Linked DNA regions of Homo sapiens: regions 1, 2, 3 and 5 are each linked to region 4. Evidence: promoter capture Hi-C in 16 types of primary human blood cells and fetal thymus (Javierre and others, 2016). All regions are on one chromosome and are shown on one strand. The core of a region is centred on a gene start or on the middle of the fragment in contact, and the rest is flanking DNA. Distances in the headings are between cores, read along the strand shown. Region 1 has its middle 41 kb from the start of CGGBP1. Region 2 has its middle 29 kb from the start of C3orf38. Region 3 has its middle 59 kb from the start of CGGBP1. Region 4 holds the start of CHMP2B (charged multivesicular body protein 2B). Region 5 has its middle 15 kb from the start of CGGBP1.

What was found. The method cuts DNA at HindIII sites, captures the fragments that hold promoters and counts their contacts. A CHiCAGO score of 5 or more calls a contact.
Region 1: a contact is called between a fragment that was not itself captured here and the fragment with the promoter of CHMP2B in region 4, in 8 of 17 cell types (naive B cells, total B cells, naive CD8 T cells and 5 more). The highest score is 9.6, in naive B cells.
Region 2: a fragment that was not itself captured here is called in contact with the fragment with the promoter of CHMP2B in region 4 in 9 of 17 cell types (total CD4 T cells, naive CD4 T cells, activated CD4 T cells and 6 more); the score reaches 11.7 in total CD4 T cells.
Region 3: a fragment that was not itself captured here is called in contact with the fragment with the promoter of CHMP2B in region 4 in 13 of 17 cell types (M0 macrophages, monocytes, total CD4 T cells and 10 more); the score reaches 9.7 in M0 macrophages.
Region 5: a contact is called between a fragment that was not itself captured here and the fragment with the promoter of CHMP2B in region 4, in 6 of 17 cell types (non-activated CD4 T cells, activated CD4 T cells, fetal thymus and 3 more). The highest score is 6.9, in non-activated CD4 T cells.

Annotation. Positions count from the first base shown.
Region 1 is chr3:88,016,569-88,019,268 of GRCh38, reverse strand. No RefSeq gene overlaps it. Among named protein-coding and RNA genes, the nearest start is that of CGGBP1, 41 kb to the left of the region's middle. RefSeq lists a silencer at 105-154. The HindIII fragment of the contact is 400 bases long and covers 1,066-1,465 here.
Region 2 is chr3:88,177,824-88,180,523 of GRCh38, reverse strand. No RefSeq gene overlaps it. Among named protein-coding and RNA genes, the nearest start is that of C3orf38, 29 kb to the right of the region's middle. The HindIII fragment of the contact is 2,683 bases long and covers 1-2,664 here.
Region 3 is chr3:87,999,056-88,001,755 of GRCh38, reverse strand. No RefSeq gene overlaps it. Among named protein-coding and RNA genes, the nearest start is that of CGGBP1, 59 kb to the left of the region's middle. The HindIII fragment of the contact is 1,905 bases long and covers 340-2,244 here.
Region 4 is chr3:87,225,909-87,228,608 of GRCh38, reverse strand. CHMP2B (charged multivesicular body protein 2B) reads right to left here and starts at 1,300. Exons shown (of 6, transcript NM_014043.4): 1 at 1,053-1,300. The coding sequence starts at 1,086. It overlaps MIR4795 (microRNA 4795), which reads left to right and starts at 2,332; the gene lies at 2,332-2,420. RefSeq lists enhancers at 1,089-1,208, 1,279-1,348, 1,399-1,448, 1,539-1,598, 1,709-1,848. The HindIII fragment of the contact is 8,756 bases long and covers 1-2,700 here.
Region 5 is chr3:88,042,593-88,045,292 of GRCh38, reverse strand. No RefSeq gene overlaps it. Among named protein-coding and RNA genes, the nearest start is that of CGGBP1, 15 kb to the left of the region's middle. The HindIII fragment of the contact is 1,672 bases long and covers 517-2,188 here.

The DNA of each region.
Region 1 (2,700 bases), core at 16-2,515, 790 kb before region 4:
CTGGCACCAGTGTACTTATGTAAAATAGACTACTGTGGAAATGCTTTTCAGAGTTCAGCAGATTTTACGTGTCCACAAAAACCACAGAGCTACTAGGTGTCACATAACAGCTATACTGAAGCAAACTTTTGTTCAAAGCCACACTTACTTTTGCTGCAGTGAAGTGCATTCTTACTATATGTACTCCAAAAATTTTCAAGGCTTTTCCTGCAAGAAAAATATTCTATATTATACCATCTTCTTGTTATGTGTGTGTGTGTGTGTCTCAGTCATCTTAAATTCATTTGAAATTCTTTGAGTGCAAGGTCTGATATTTTTGTTTTCAATTTGCATTTTAATACTCCATAATACTTAAAAGTTAAATAATATATGGCTTACAAGCATACCTGTTAAAAGTTAAAAATAGGAGAAAAAAATGAGTACTTTTCAAACAATTTAAAAAGTATTAGTTATTATTAATGATTAAATCTCTTGGTGCTATATAATAACTTCAGCCTAAATTTAACTCTTTCTTCATATTCCATTTTTTTTTTTGAGACAGAGTATCACCCTGTCGCCCAGCCTGGAGTGGAGTGCAGTGGTGCCATCTCGGCTCACTGCAACATCTGCCTCCCAGGTTCAAGCGATTCTCATGCCTCAGCCTCCTGAGTAGCTAGGACTAAAGGTGTGCGCCACCTCACCTGACTAATTTTTGTATTTTTAATAGAGACAAGGTTTCACTATGTTGGCCAGGCTGGTCTCAAACTCCTGACCGCAGGTGATCCACCTACTTTGGCCTCCCAAAATGCTGCGTTTACAGGTGTGAGCCACCACACCTGGTATTCTTCGTAATCCTTTCTCTTTCTCTTTCTTTGCTTCCCTCCTTCCTTCCTTTTCTTTCTTTCTTTCCTTCCTTCCTTCCTTAACTTTTGGTATTGGCTGCACTTTCAAACAATAAATACAGATGTTAATGAAAAGGTCCTTTCAATCTAAGAATTATGAATATGCTGGGTGAGTCTAGATCTTCTAGTCTTTCCACAGTGATCATTTGTAGTCATGGTGGAATTTTCCTGACCTTGGTAAGCTTACTCAAATATGAGGATGAAATCTCTAACTTTGGCTAGTTACCACTCTGCTTTTTCTATCCATATGCTATGTCATTAACTCTCTTCAGTCTCTTTTTCCCCCAAATGCATGGTGAAAATTCAAAGGTGATATCAACCATACAGGCACATTCTGGGGAAAGTGGTAGCAAGGATGTCAGTCCATGACCTCAGTCTTTTTCAGGCTCATTACAAAGACATTGGGAGGAGGTGTTAAGGTGTTAGTGGGCCTTTTTATAAAGACTTGTGTGGAAATACTAGTAGCTTGGGTTTCAGTTTGCAGTAGTTCCCGTAATATTGTTTCAATATAATACTCTATTAAATAAAAACATTTCTCAGATATCTATAAATCTGTTCATCCTTCTATAATCATTTATCAAGCTTTACAATATTTGTCCCAGAACTTTGCTAGGCTACAAGCTAAGGAAACAGGAAAAAATATGTATGGCTTTCGATGTCAAGGAGCTAAGAGGTTTGGAGAAGATGAAAATGAAAACAAGAACCATAGAGAAAATAGGTGTTCAAAATAATACAGGATAATACAGCAAGAGAAGAAGTTGAATGCTCATCTGGAGTGGAGAAAAACTAAGAGAAGTTTTAGGAAAGAGGTATTACCTGAGCTGAGTTTAAAAGAATGAATAAGGCCGGGCACGGTGGCTCACGCTGGTAATCCCAGCACTTTGGGAGGCCGAGGTGGGCGGATCACGAGGTCAGGAGATCCAGACCATCCTGGCTAACACGGTAAAACCTCGTCTCTACTAAAAATACAAAAAATTAGCAGGGCGCAGTAGCGGGCGCCGTAGCCGGCACCTGTAGTCCCACATACTTGGGAGGCTGAGGCAGGAGAATGGCGTGAACCCGGCAGGCGGAGCTTGCAGTGAGCCGGGAGGGCGCCACTGCACTCCAACCTGGGCGAAAGAGCCAGACTCCATCTCAAAAAAAAAAAAAAAAAAAAGAATAAAATTGATCACGGGCTTTAATTTACAAGCAAGTTAAATGTAAGAGCTTGGGGCAGAGTATAAAATACAGTTGGAGACGAGGGTGGGGACCAGTCTTCTCCATCCTGCTAAGGAGCATGGACTTGATCCCACATAGGTAGTGGCAAACCACTGAAGGATGTAAACAAGAGAAAAACCTGGACCACCCTTGAGATGTAAAAAGATGACTTCAAAAATTTTTATAGAGGACAGATTGCACTTGGATGGAGTTGGATGTAGAGATACCAAAGGAGAGACAATGAAATCTTAAACTTGAGACACAGTAATGAGAAAAGAAGAAGGGGATGAAGAGGAGACCTATTGTGTCCGAAATTGATGGGTTCTTGGTCTCACTGACTTCAAGAATGAAGCCACGGACCCTCGAGGTGAGTGTTACAGTTCTTAAAGACAGCGTGACTGGAGTTTGTCCTTTCTGATGTTCAGATGTGTTCGGAGTTTCTTCCTTCTGGTGGGGTTCCTGGTCTCACTGGCTCAGGAGTGAAGCTGTGGACCTTTGCCGTGGGTGTCACAGCTCTTAAGGCAGAGCGTCTGGAGTTGTTCTTTTCTCCCGGTGGGTTCGTGGTCTCGCTGGCTTCAGGAGTGAAGCTGCAGACCTTCGCGGTAAGTGTTACAGCTCATAA
Region 2 (2,700 bases), core at 74-2,573, 950 kb before region 4:
CGCAGCAGCATTTGGGTTTTGAACAAGAAGAGGACAGATAAAGTACTCTGATTCTTTCTTAATTTTAAAAGAAAAAAAAAATCAATGGGTAAGAAGGGAGGATGAAGAAAAATAAATTAGTTTTGCAGTATTATCACATGTTATCTGGGCCTTAACAAATTAGTTTCTAGTAAAATGTGATCCAATGAACACATTTAAATAAAATTAAAATTAAACAATTTAAAGTAGGTACTCTAAAGTGGAAAAAAATCTTGTGTTAATTTGCTTAGGAATCTATTTTGTTTTAAATAAAAAGTAAATAAAATGAAAAAATATTGTAAAAATGAAGATTTTATTAAAATCCTGAGAAAATTGATAACTTGTCAATAAAAATAAGCCTATCCCTCAGAGCAAATTTGTGTTAGAATAAAAGGCATCTGTTTATCCATATACATAGCTCTATGCAGCCCCTAAAACATTTTATTATTCAAGTTTACTTAGTGTTGAAAATGTTACCTATTGCTTAGTTATTCAAGACTGTTATATATTTATAGTATTTATTGTACTGTATGTATGTTGAGAAGTTAATTATTGATATGCTAAATTTGTTATAGTTGGGAGTTAACTTCATACAGATTAATATGGATTAAAAATCCAAATTTCTCAAAATTCTAGATTTTTAAAACATATAGACATTCAAATTACATGTCAAGTTGTGAGTATTAGCATATTCCTCAGTTTTCAGTGTGAATATTAGCATATTCCTCAGTTTTGAGATTATTGTTTCATAAATGTTTCAAACCACATTATTATGTATGTTAAGGGTATTTTAATTAATCATTCCAACTCTGGCATAAGTAGACAAACTACTTAGTAATGTCAAACCAAAATAATATTCTGGCAGTCTCTGTCAGTAAAATGTCATTTTATCTGAAACATGAACAAACTAATTTCTGTTGTTGTTTTTGATATTTTTCTTTGAACATTATAAAAATTTTCAAACATAAAGCAAAATTGAAAGAATTTTAAATGAGTACCTGTATATCTTCCACAAGGTCCTACTATTAACAGTTTAGTATACTTGCTTTATCATATCCATCCATCAATCCATCCCCCATCCATTAAATCTCTTTTATTTATGTAAGCACTTTAGAGTTCAATATTTGTGTGTGTTTATGTGAAATGTACATATACTACAATGTACAACTCTTAAGTGTATATTCACTGAGTTTTGACAAATACATACATCTGTACACAGTCAAACCCATATCACGATATAGAACGTGACCTTCCTGTAAGAAAGTTCTCATAACCTTCACAGTAAATTCCTACCCCAACAACTCTCCAGAGGCAACCAATGTTATTTTTTTTTCCACTGCAGATTGGTTTTGTTTGTTCTAGGCTTTCTTATAAGTGGAGTCACAAAGTATGTACCCTTTTGTTTAAATCTTCTTTCACTAAGCCTTCATGTTGAATGCAATGTATAATTCATTTATTTGTATTATAGAGGAGTATTTCACTATATATGCCATAGTTTGTTTATCCAATCTCTAACTGAACATGTGAGCTATTTCCTTTTTGAGGCTTTTCTGAACAAAGCTGCTATGAATATTCTTGGATATGTCTTTTTGTGAATATATGCTTTTATTTCCCTTTAGTAGATGCTTATTAGTGAAAATGCTGGGCCATAGTGTAGGGATATCTTTAGTTTTAGCATTTAGCATTTAGTTGTGGCATTATACAATCCTTACAAAAAATGTATGAGAGGTCCAGTTTTTCTATAACATCACTAGCATTTGGTAATGTTTATCTTTCTAAATTATAGTCATTCTGGTGGTAGTGTCTTGTCTCCTGGTTTTAATATGTATTTCCATAGTGACAGTTGACATCGTATACTCTTTAATGATTTTATTGGCAATTTGTACTTCTTTTTTTATAAATTGTCTATTCAAATACTTTGCCCAGTTTTAATTAGGTTATTTGACTTTCTATTGCTGAGTTGTAGGAGTACTCTATGTATTCTGCATACCCGTCCTTTGTCAGGTGTGAATATTTCTTCCAGTCTTAGCTTTATTTGTGAATATTTCTTTGTGAATATTTCTTCCAGTCTTAGCTTATTTCTTAATGTTCATTTTAATTAGCAGAAACTTTTAATTTTGAAGAAATATAATTTATCAATTTTTTCTTAAATGATTTTACTTTCTGTACCTGATGGTACCTTTGCTTATCCCCAAGTCATAAAAATATTCTATTTCCCTTTAAAGGTTTTATGGTTTTAGCTTTTATGTTTAGGTCTATGATCCAAAATTGATTTTTCTGTATAGTATGAGGTGTGAGTCAAGGGGTTTTGTTAAAATATGGATATTTAGTATTCCAAGGGACTTTTCTTTCCTCATTGGCTTTGTTAAAAAGCAAATGTCTATGTAAGTGCAAGTGTATATCTACGTTCTTTATTCTATTCCATTCATCTGTGGATCCTTATTTTTACCACACTGTCTGGATTACTACAGCTTGATAGTAACTTTTGCCTCTAACTTTGTCTTTATTTATATACTTTTTGGATAATAGCTACTGAAGATAGGTGCATATTTTAATATTATGTAAGTCTTATGAAAAATGACAACAAATTGCTTTTGGGGGCTTATGAATTTCAGTCTTAATTTGGGACATAGAGAAAAGGAAGCTTTTTGTTCTTATCAACAACATAAAAGCACTTGAAAT
Region 3 (2,700 bases), core at 43-2,542, 770 kb before region 4:
AACTTGTGGAATAAAACAAGCATTAGATCCGGGAACTCCAGTGAACGAGGATAACTTGAAGTGAAAGTTTGAGGTTCGCCAAATTACAAATCATTACACAAGAAAAAGAAAAAAAATAGAAAAAAAGAGGAAAATATTCTTAAAAGTTTGGTGGAATTTTTTCTGAGTAAGAAATTTATCCAAATCCTGTTTCCTGCCATGTCCCTAAGAAATCATTTGTCTTATTCTTTTCCCCGAATACTTGGACAAAAGTTAGAAAAACCTGTACTGTAAATCCTATTCCTGAATAAAAGAAAAAGAGAGGTTTTTTGGCGGGGGGTATAGGTCAACTAGAAAGCTTCTATCTTAGTTGACACCTGTTGGATGTTTCTGGAGCTGTGTCAAGACGTGATATGGACACCTCTATCTTTAAACAGGTAAACGTGGTATTACATTTGTGCTAGTATCACAAAATTAAATTCAGCTGAGCTAAGCTGACAACGTACAAGATACAATTTGCTCTGAAGATTCAACAAAGAGAACCACTGTACGGCATAATGGTTACCAGCAAGCTGAGTAATAGGCAATAAACAGTCCAGTTATTCTACAGTCAGTTTACTTCTGCATGAACCCAGTCGCTGATGTGAAGGGTAGGGGTCAGCGTAGTTAGGGAATCCGTGAGGCTCCTGTTACTGCGCATGCTCTAAGCTCCAAGCCCACAACCTCCTTCGAAAGAACACTACCGCCAACGCTAGCGCTACGGGGCAGATGTGGTTGTGGGTTTTGTGCCTGCAGAGGTAAATAGTCCATTTAACATCTCAGCAATCAAGTCGCAAGAACCTTCCAAAGCGCCACCCTCTAAATCGCAGCTGTATATACTAGAGTGATACTGTAATCAAAAAGGAGGAGGAGGAGAGAGGAGAAAAGGGGGATACAAAGAAACATAAAAGCAAAAAGAACTCACTTTTCTCGAGGAAGTACAATTACCTGTTCACAAATATTTGGGAATAGGTGCAAAGATTTGCTTTAAAATAGTTTTTTTAAACATAGTTCCCTTAATAATTAATGAAGGTATAACTTTCTCTATTGAATACCTGCAAACATACCTATTCAAAGAGCATTCATTATAACCTTTTCTTCTCATTCTCTTAAATGCCAACAATTTTTTTCGTTTTGTCTCTGTCAAGATTTATTTTGGGAAGGAAAAGTTGAAGGAAACTATTTCTCAAAATTTAATACATAATTCTAGGTGATTACATTCAAAACTGTTCTTGCAAGATTGGAACTCAGAATATTATTTAATAACAATATTTCAGTAACCATGTCTACTTATTTTTTAAAAATTAAAAAAGGAATTGTCTAGAATATTATTAATAATGATATTTCAGTAACTACATTTACTGAATTTTAATTTCAGAAAAATAAAAGGAATTGTCTTTGTTCTATGTTGAGTTTTAAAAATGAGAATGCTAACTCTTTTGATTTTAGTGAAGTGAGGTGAAGGACCAGAGGTGAAGTTATGGTAGGTTTCATGGTCAAATGAAGGAGACTCCTTTTAAAGTTCAGGCTGCCACAAACACTTTGGACAAACACGTGGACACTTAAAATTCATGTCTACTGCACACCATTATTCTTCCTTTGTAGTTTTCTTAATAGGATGCTATAGGATGTTTTGAAATCATTAAGTTAAAGCCAACACTCGTTATTTGAAGAACATGGTTTATTTCATATTATACTATATTTTTGGGCTAAGCAACATTAAATTCCACCATACATTTATTTTTTTCCACCCTCAACAACAGCAACAAACTGAGTAGATTATACTTCATAGACTACTAAAATTCATGTTTGAACATTTTCTATAGTTTGGGCAATTGGTATTAAAATTGTTAAAATAAACTTGACTGTTTTTTCTTGTCTTTTTTTAAATAAAAAAACTACTACATATTATTTTTCATTAATGGGAAGATTTTGAGAAAGAAAATGCATTTAAATTTTGGCTCAGGTTTAATAGCATACATACACAAGTCTCGTTCAGACAATACTCAATAGAAAATACAAATATAAGAAATCTATTCTTCAACCTGAGCCTCTAAATATTTTGCATATGATATACTAATAAGAGCAGGGAAAAGGATAGTCGATTCCTAATATATGCATGCATTTATAATTGAAGTTATTTTTGTGTAAGTATGGCAAGCAGAATAGATAGTATTTAAACCTTTAGATTGATAGGATGATAAAATAGGAAAAAACCCCAAAGCTTAACACAAAGAGTCATTGTTGAGTTCAGTTTCATATTCTGAAACACTGAAGTGAATAGAAACATAATAAATAAATCTATGAACTTGCAATTTACCTTTTAGTCCCTTTTTTTGTAGTATATGTAATGACAGCACAAGTTTGTGGACAGAGGGACAACCATGACAAACAGGCTTCTTGGAGAACAAGGGGAGTCCAGTTCAGTTGCTAGAGTCAACATATAGTGTGTTTCCTGTGATTGGTGTGGTTCTCAGGTGCTTGCTGTAAATTTGGGCAGTGTTAAAGGGTTGGCATTTCTATGTTTGGTCAACCTGATAGTGCTTGTACCATAATCATCCATAATCATATAAGATGGTGAAATGGGCATGGGCCTTAAGTCTTTAAGAAATTTAAGATCTATTTTTTTTAAAATGTAAAAGATCTAATCTTTTATATCTTTAAGATTTGATCTTTTAAGAT
Region 4 (2,700 bases), core at 51-2,550:
TTATCCTCCCCAAAATAATTTTGCTGGCATTGGAATAGTCAACACAAAGGAATGAAGGAGTTACGTCCAGGTCTGGACTGAGCACCCTATTTGTACCAATCACTGTCTAGCTACCACTGCTCCTTTTGTGGCAGAATTAGACCCTTACAAAGAAGTGATTCTTTGGTTGAACCAGCAACAACCTAGACTAAACATATAATGGGGAACACAATTTTTAAATAACTTGAATGAATTTAATTCCTGGTAGCAATCAATGAAAACATCAAGTGTTATATAAACACATTATAGGCATCGCATATGAGCACCATAAAACTTGTACATTCCTTTACATTCACTTTTTTCCCCGCTTAAGATGATATTAAGCTAAATGCGGGAAACAACACAATTATCTTTACATGTTAAACTTCTATGAAGACAATATATACCCCATCTCTTTCTTTAGTTGGCAAAAAATAATCATAAGGGAGAAAAATCCATTATGAAAACTAAATCTGGGCACTTCCCTTGGGTTTATTTTTCTACTGGGGTTAATCAAAAAAGCATTTGTTTCACATCTCTTTACTGATGGGGTGTTCTTAAAGAAGCAACTGACCCAGACCCAACTTCATTTCCTAACTGGAGCCTGTTATCCCCTCCCTCCCCATTCCGAGACTGCCAGTTTCCTGTATGGATGCCTACAAGTAGTATATCGCCCAACTGAAGAGCAACAATCGAAGCAGAGGAAACCAACAAGAAATCCATCAGATTTCCAAGTTTATTGACACTCAAGGGCCAGCTAGCCTCCTCGAAACGCTCAGGATCCTGCTGAGGAAAACCCGAGGGTGGGGGAATCGTGAGGATAGGGAAGCAACCAGACTGCCTAGGTGAGCCTAAGGTGAGGTGAGTCAGAAGCAAGAGGGAGGCAGAGAAGTGGTGCCGCGAGGGCGGTCACCTGTGGGACCACTTGATCCAGCCCCGCCTCCAGGGACAGTAGGCAGAATCGCGGCCAGCAGGCCTCGAAAGACGCCGAGAAAACGCAGAGCTGGGCCCCTTCAGCCCGGCCTGGAACTCACCATCCACGGTTTTCTTCTTGAAGAGGGACGCCATGGTTAAAGACTGCGCCCGGGCGGCCCGGCTCGGCCCGGTCCGGCCCAACGCTGGCAAAGGACAGGAGGAAAAGGACAGGACCTTGGCGGGTTCGGGGTGGCGGAGCGGAGAGACAGCAGGAGGAGGTCGGGGTCGCCAGGCAGGACCCGCGGAAGGCTTGTATCCGCAGCTACCGCAGCCGCGTCACCCGGAGCTCAGGTGACCGGGAACTAACACACTTTTTGGAGAAGTCACTTCTAGGCGGCGCCTGCGCGTTGTGTGGCGCCTGCGCACTACGGAGTTTGAAGCCGCGGCCGCTTTCCTCACGTCTGCGGCTGCCAGTTCCTCCTGCACCGGGAGTTGGCAGCGGGGCGAGTCTGGAGCTGGCGGGGATAGGAGAGCGTGGGGCCACGGCTTCTGTGCGCGGGTTGGGTGATGATTGAGGACAGTGATCAGCCTTGCTTAGCGCTTCACCCCTTGCCCCGGGGAAAGCTGGATGAGGGATCTCCGGGCTCCTAGACTAAGTGTGGGTTGTCCCGGAACCGCCTGTACCCACTCCGAGTTGATTTATTACGGTCCCATTGCTGTTAGTATTTTTGTTGTTGTTGTTGTTGTTGTTTGTTTGTTTTTACTCGAGTAATCCAGGAACTGGCGGAAACGTTGAGTTCCGTACCCGGTGATTGTTGGCCCCTGGAGTTCGCGGTCCTTTCGGCACTGACTGACTCGGCGACCTCCCCCGCACCGCGCAGACCCCTGCAGGACCCTAGCCGCTCACCTGCCGCCCCCGGCTCCAGACTCCGACGACCCAGCGTGGGTCTCCGGGGATCCAGTGTCTAGAGTTGGGGGGGTCTCGAGGACGAAGGGAAGTTTTTTAATGCTACACTTTTTGTTTAAGGTTCTTGCCTGGAAACATTAAAACACACACACACACACACACACACACACACACACACAAATTTGTAGGCTGGTCTAAATGTCTCCAGCTCTATTTCTTAATTTCTTGTAAATCATGAATCATAAAGTGTCATGGCTATACGGTGATCCTATTAGAATTCCTCACAGCCGTTTATTTGGGCTTTTTGTGAAAAACTGCATATCATGTTAAAGAAAAAATGTAATGAATTATTTAAAGAATCCTTGCATGTATAAAATGGAAAATACAACCTATGCGTGCGTACCTGTATATAGTCTCTACTGTTTAAAGCAACACTGCCTTCCACAGGATAAAAATAATGGTAGCATTTTTTTTTTCATAAATATTATCTCTGATATGGAAGAAATCCAGAAGTGGCTAATAATATTGACACTATAACAATAATGTCAATATTATTAGCCACTTCTGGATTTATGAATCATGTCTCAAGGATTATTATTTATGATAATCAGGCCAGCCTTTCCCATTTTTCCCCTCCTGAGATATCCAAGCCCTCATAGCCACTGATAATGCTGCTGCTGCTGCTAAAAGTTAGCTGAGAGTCTGTTCAAGAAAACTTTCTTAAGAATGACGTAGTAATATGCAAGATATAATTGTTTTGCTTCTCCTCAAGTTATTCTCGATATGGGAAGATGAAGTAAGGAAACATTAGGAAGACATGTAAGTGAGAAGATTTAGTCTCTGCACTCAAGACCGGGCCT
Region 5 (2,700 bases), core at 103-2,602, 820 kb before region 4:
GAGAGACCTTCAGAAAAATAAATGTAATATATATTATGTTATATTGTATTATTGCTTTGATAATATACTCTCCTACACTAACTTTATCCTGCTTTGAATTTCTAAGACACCTTTATTCTTTTCAGAACATTTACTTTTAATAGGATCCCATTTGAGGTCTATGATTACAATATATTCTGTTATCTCTCTGTGACTATTATAATTTTTTTTTTTTGAGACAGAGTTTCACCCTTCCACCCAGGCTGGAGTGCAGTGGCATGATCTCGGCTCACTGCAAACTCCGCCTTGGGTTTTAAGTGATTCTCTTGCCTCAGCCTCCCAAGTAGCTGGGATTACAGGCGCCTACCACCACACCTGGCTAACTTTTGTATTTTTAGTAGAGATGGGGTTTCACCATGTTGGCCAGGCTGGTCTACAACTCCTGACCTCATGATCTGCCCACTTCAGCCTCCCAAAGTGCTGGGATTACAGGCATGAGCCACTGTGCCCAGCCAACTATTATAATTTGTTAAAGCTTTCTTCTATTTCTGCATCATCTCTGTTTCCTCTATTTCTGACTGCTTGTTTAGTCTGTCTCTTTCCTATTAGAAACATATTTTCCACACACCTCCTCATTACAACTTTTTCTGTGTACCAAATACCTTAATAACTGAGAAGAAATTCATAGTAGCCTTAAAAGGAAAGAAAGGAAACTATGAGCAGATAAGATATCTTGAGGAATTTCCGGACAAGGGACAGGTTGATTTATGAATGATGAAAAGTAGATTGTATTAAATTGATTGAGAAGCAAGAGAACAGAGAAAATCCAAAGCTCAAAATGCTTCAAAGAAAAACACTTTCTGAAAAAAACCACTTCTGAATTCAGAGCAGATTCAGAAAAATGGCAAGTGAAAGTGAACAAAAATGAAGAGGGGGAGATGTTGTCTCTAAATAATCATCAGGGTAAATGATTATACAGTTTCTTACTATAATTCTTACATATGCTAAACACAAGGTAGCACTGTTTAATGGTTTAAGAGTAGAATATAAAACCTATAAACAACATTATAATAAAATGAACTGCTTATTATCACTAGTATGGCTTGTGTTATAACATAGAAAGGCCTAGAAAACATTATTCCAAAGAGGAATTTGTGATGTTTAGACTACTGTCAATGAAAGAAAGGAGGAAATTATCTGCCCAGCTCCTAAGTGCAGCAAACTTCTTTACTATCTCTGATGGTTAATTTTATGTGTCAGCTTGCCATGGGTGTCTGGATATTGGTCAAACATTATTTAGGAGTATGTCTATGAGCGTGTTTTGGATGAGATTAACACTTGAATCAGAAGACTGAGTAAAGCAGATTGCCCTCCCTAATGTGGGGTGTGGGGGGCCCATCCAATCAGATGAAGACTTGAATAGAATAAAAAGGCTGACCCTTCCAAAAGTAAGGGACAGTCTTCTACCGCCTGACTGCCTTGTGCTGGGACATTGGTTTCTTTCTGCCTTCAAAATCAAGCTGAAACATTGGCTCTTCCTGGGTCTTGAGCCTATCAGTAATTGGAATGAAGCCACGTGATTGGTTTGCCTGGTTTTCAGGCCTTCAGACTCACTGAAATGATACCACCAACTCTTCTGTGTCTCCAGCTTGCTGACTGCACCTCTCGGGACTTGTCATTCTGTATAATCGTGTGAGGTAATTCTTTATAATAAATCTCTCTCTCACCCAGATAAATAGATCTTTTTCTCTGTGAATATATACATCCTATTGGTTCTATTTGTTTATATAGGATGGTAACTAATACAAATTTTGGCACTAAGAGTGATTCCAGAAGAACAGAATTTTAAGGATGAGTTTTAGGAATTAGTTCTGGGATATCTGGAATTGGATCTCTAAGCTGATTAAATTTATAAACACTAATGATTTTATTTTCAGTAGTAAAAAGAGCACTAATAGTTCATGGCATGATGTAACAATGGAGAAACACAAAATATCACCATTGGATACTCAACTACTTACAAGAAGCAAGAATCTGTTTAACTATGTATAAGATACTTTGAAATATTTTTGGCAAACTAATGAGTATAATGAGATGGGCTGGTTGCTTCTAATGTCACTGAACATAGTGGAGAAAGAAAAGAAAAGAAAACGACGAGCTCAGGCATTTGAGTTTCCAACTCAAGTGCTGCATAAATGACCTAAAAGCTTCTATGTGTGCCCTGAAAAAGACCCTTAGCTCTGGTAGCTGCAGGGCTGAGATTGCTGAGAATCAAATCCAGATTCTCATTCTGTGACTTGCTGAATTACAATGCAAGTTGAACTCCCAGCCTTGTTAAGTATGAACTGTTAAAGTGAGGATATTGATTGGGAAGGAATGGTATCCTGAAAGTTGGCATGGGCCCGTGTGGGAAGGCCCTGATGAACCTCAGTGCCATTGAACCCCTAAATGTCAATGGGGTCCCTCGTGAACCCCAGTAGGAGAAGCCACTCCACCTTGACTGAGAGCTGCCTCTCCATTCCCATCTGAGGAGATTCACTGCATTAGCTGAGGAAATTGCAGTGGCCTCCACTAAAGCAGTTGCAATTGCCATGCAAGACAACCATGAGTCTTCTCAGGATTCACTCCCACCACCTTTCCTTGCTTCTTGACCCTTAAATAGACTTAAGACCCTAGAAGTTCCTAGAGGTGAGGTACAAAGTGTGGTCCATAAGTTGGAGT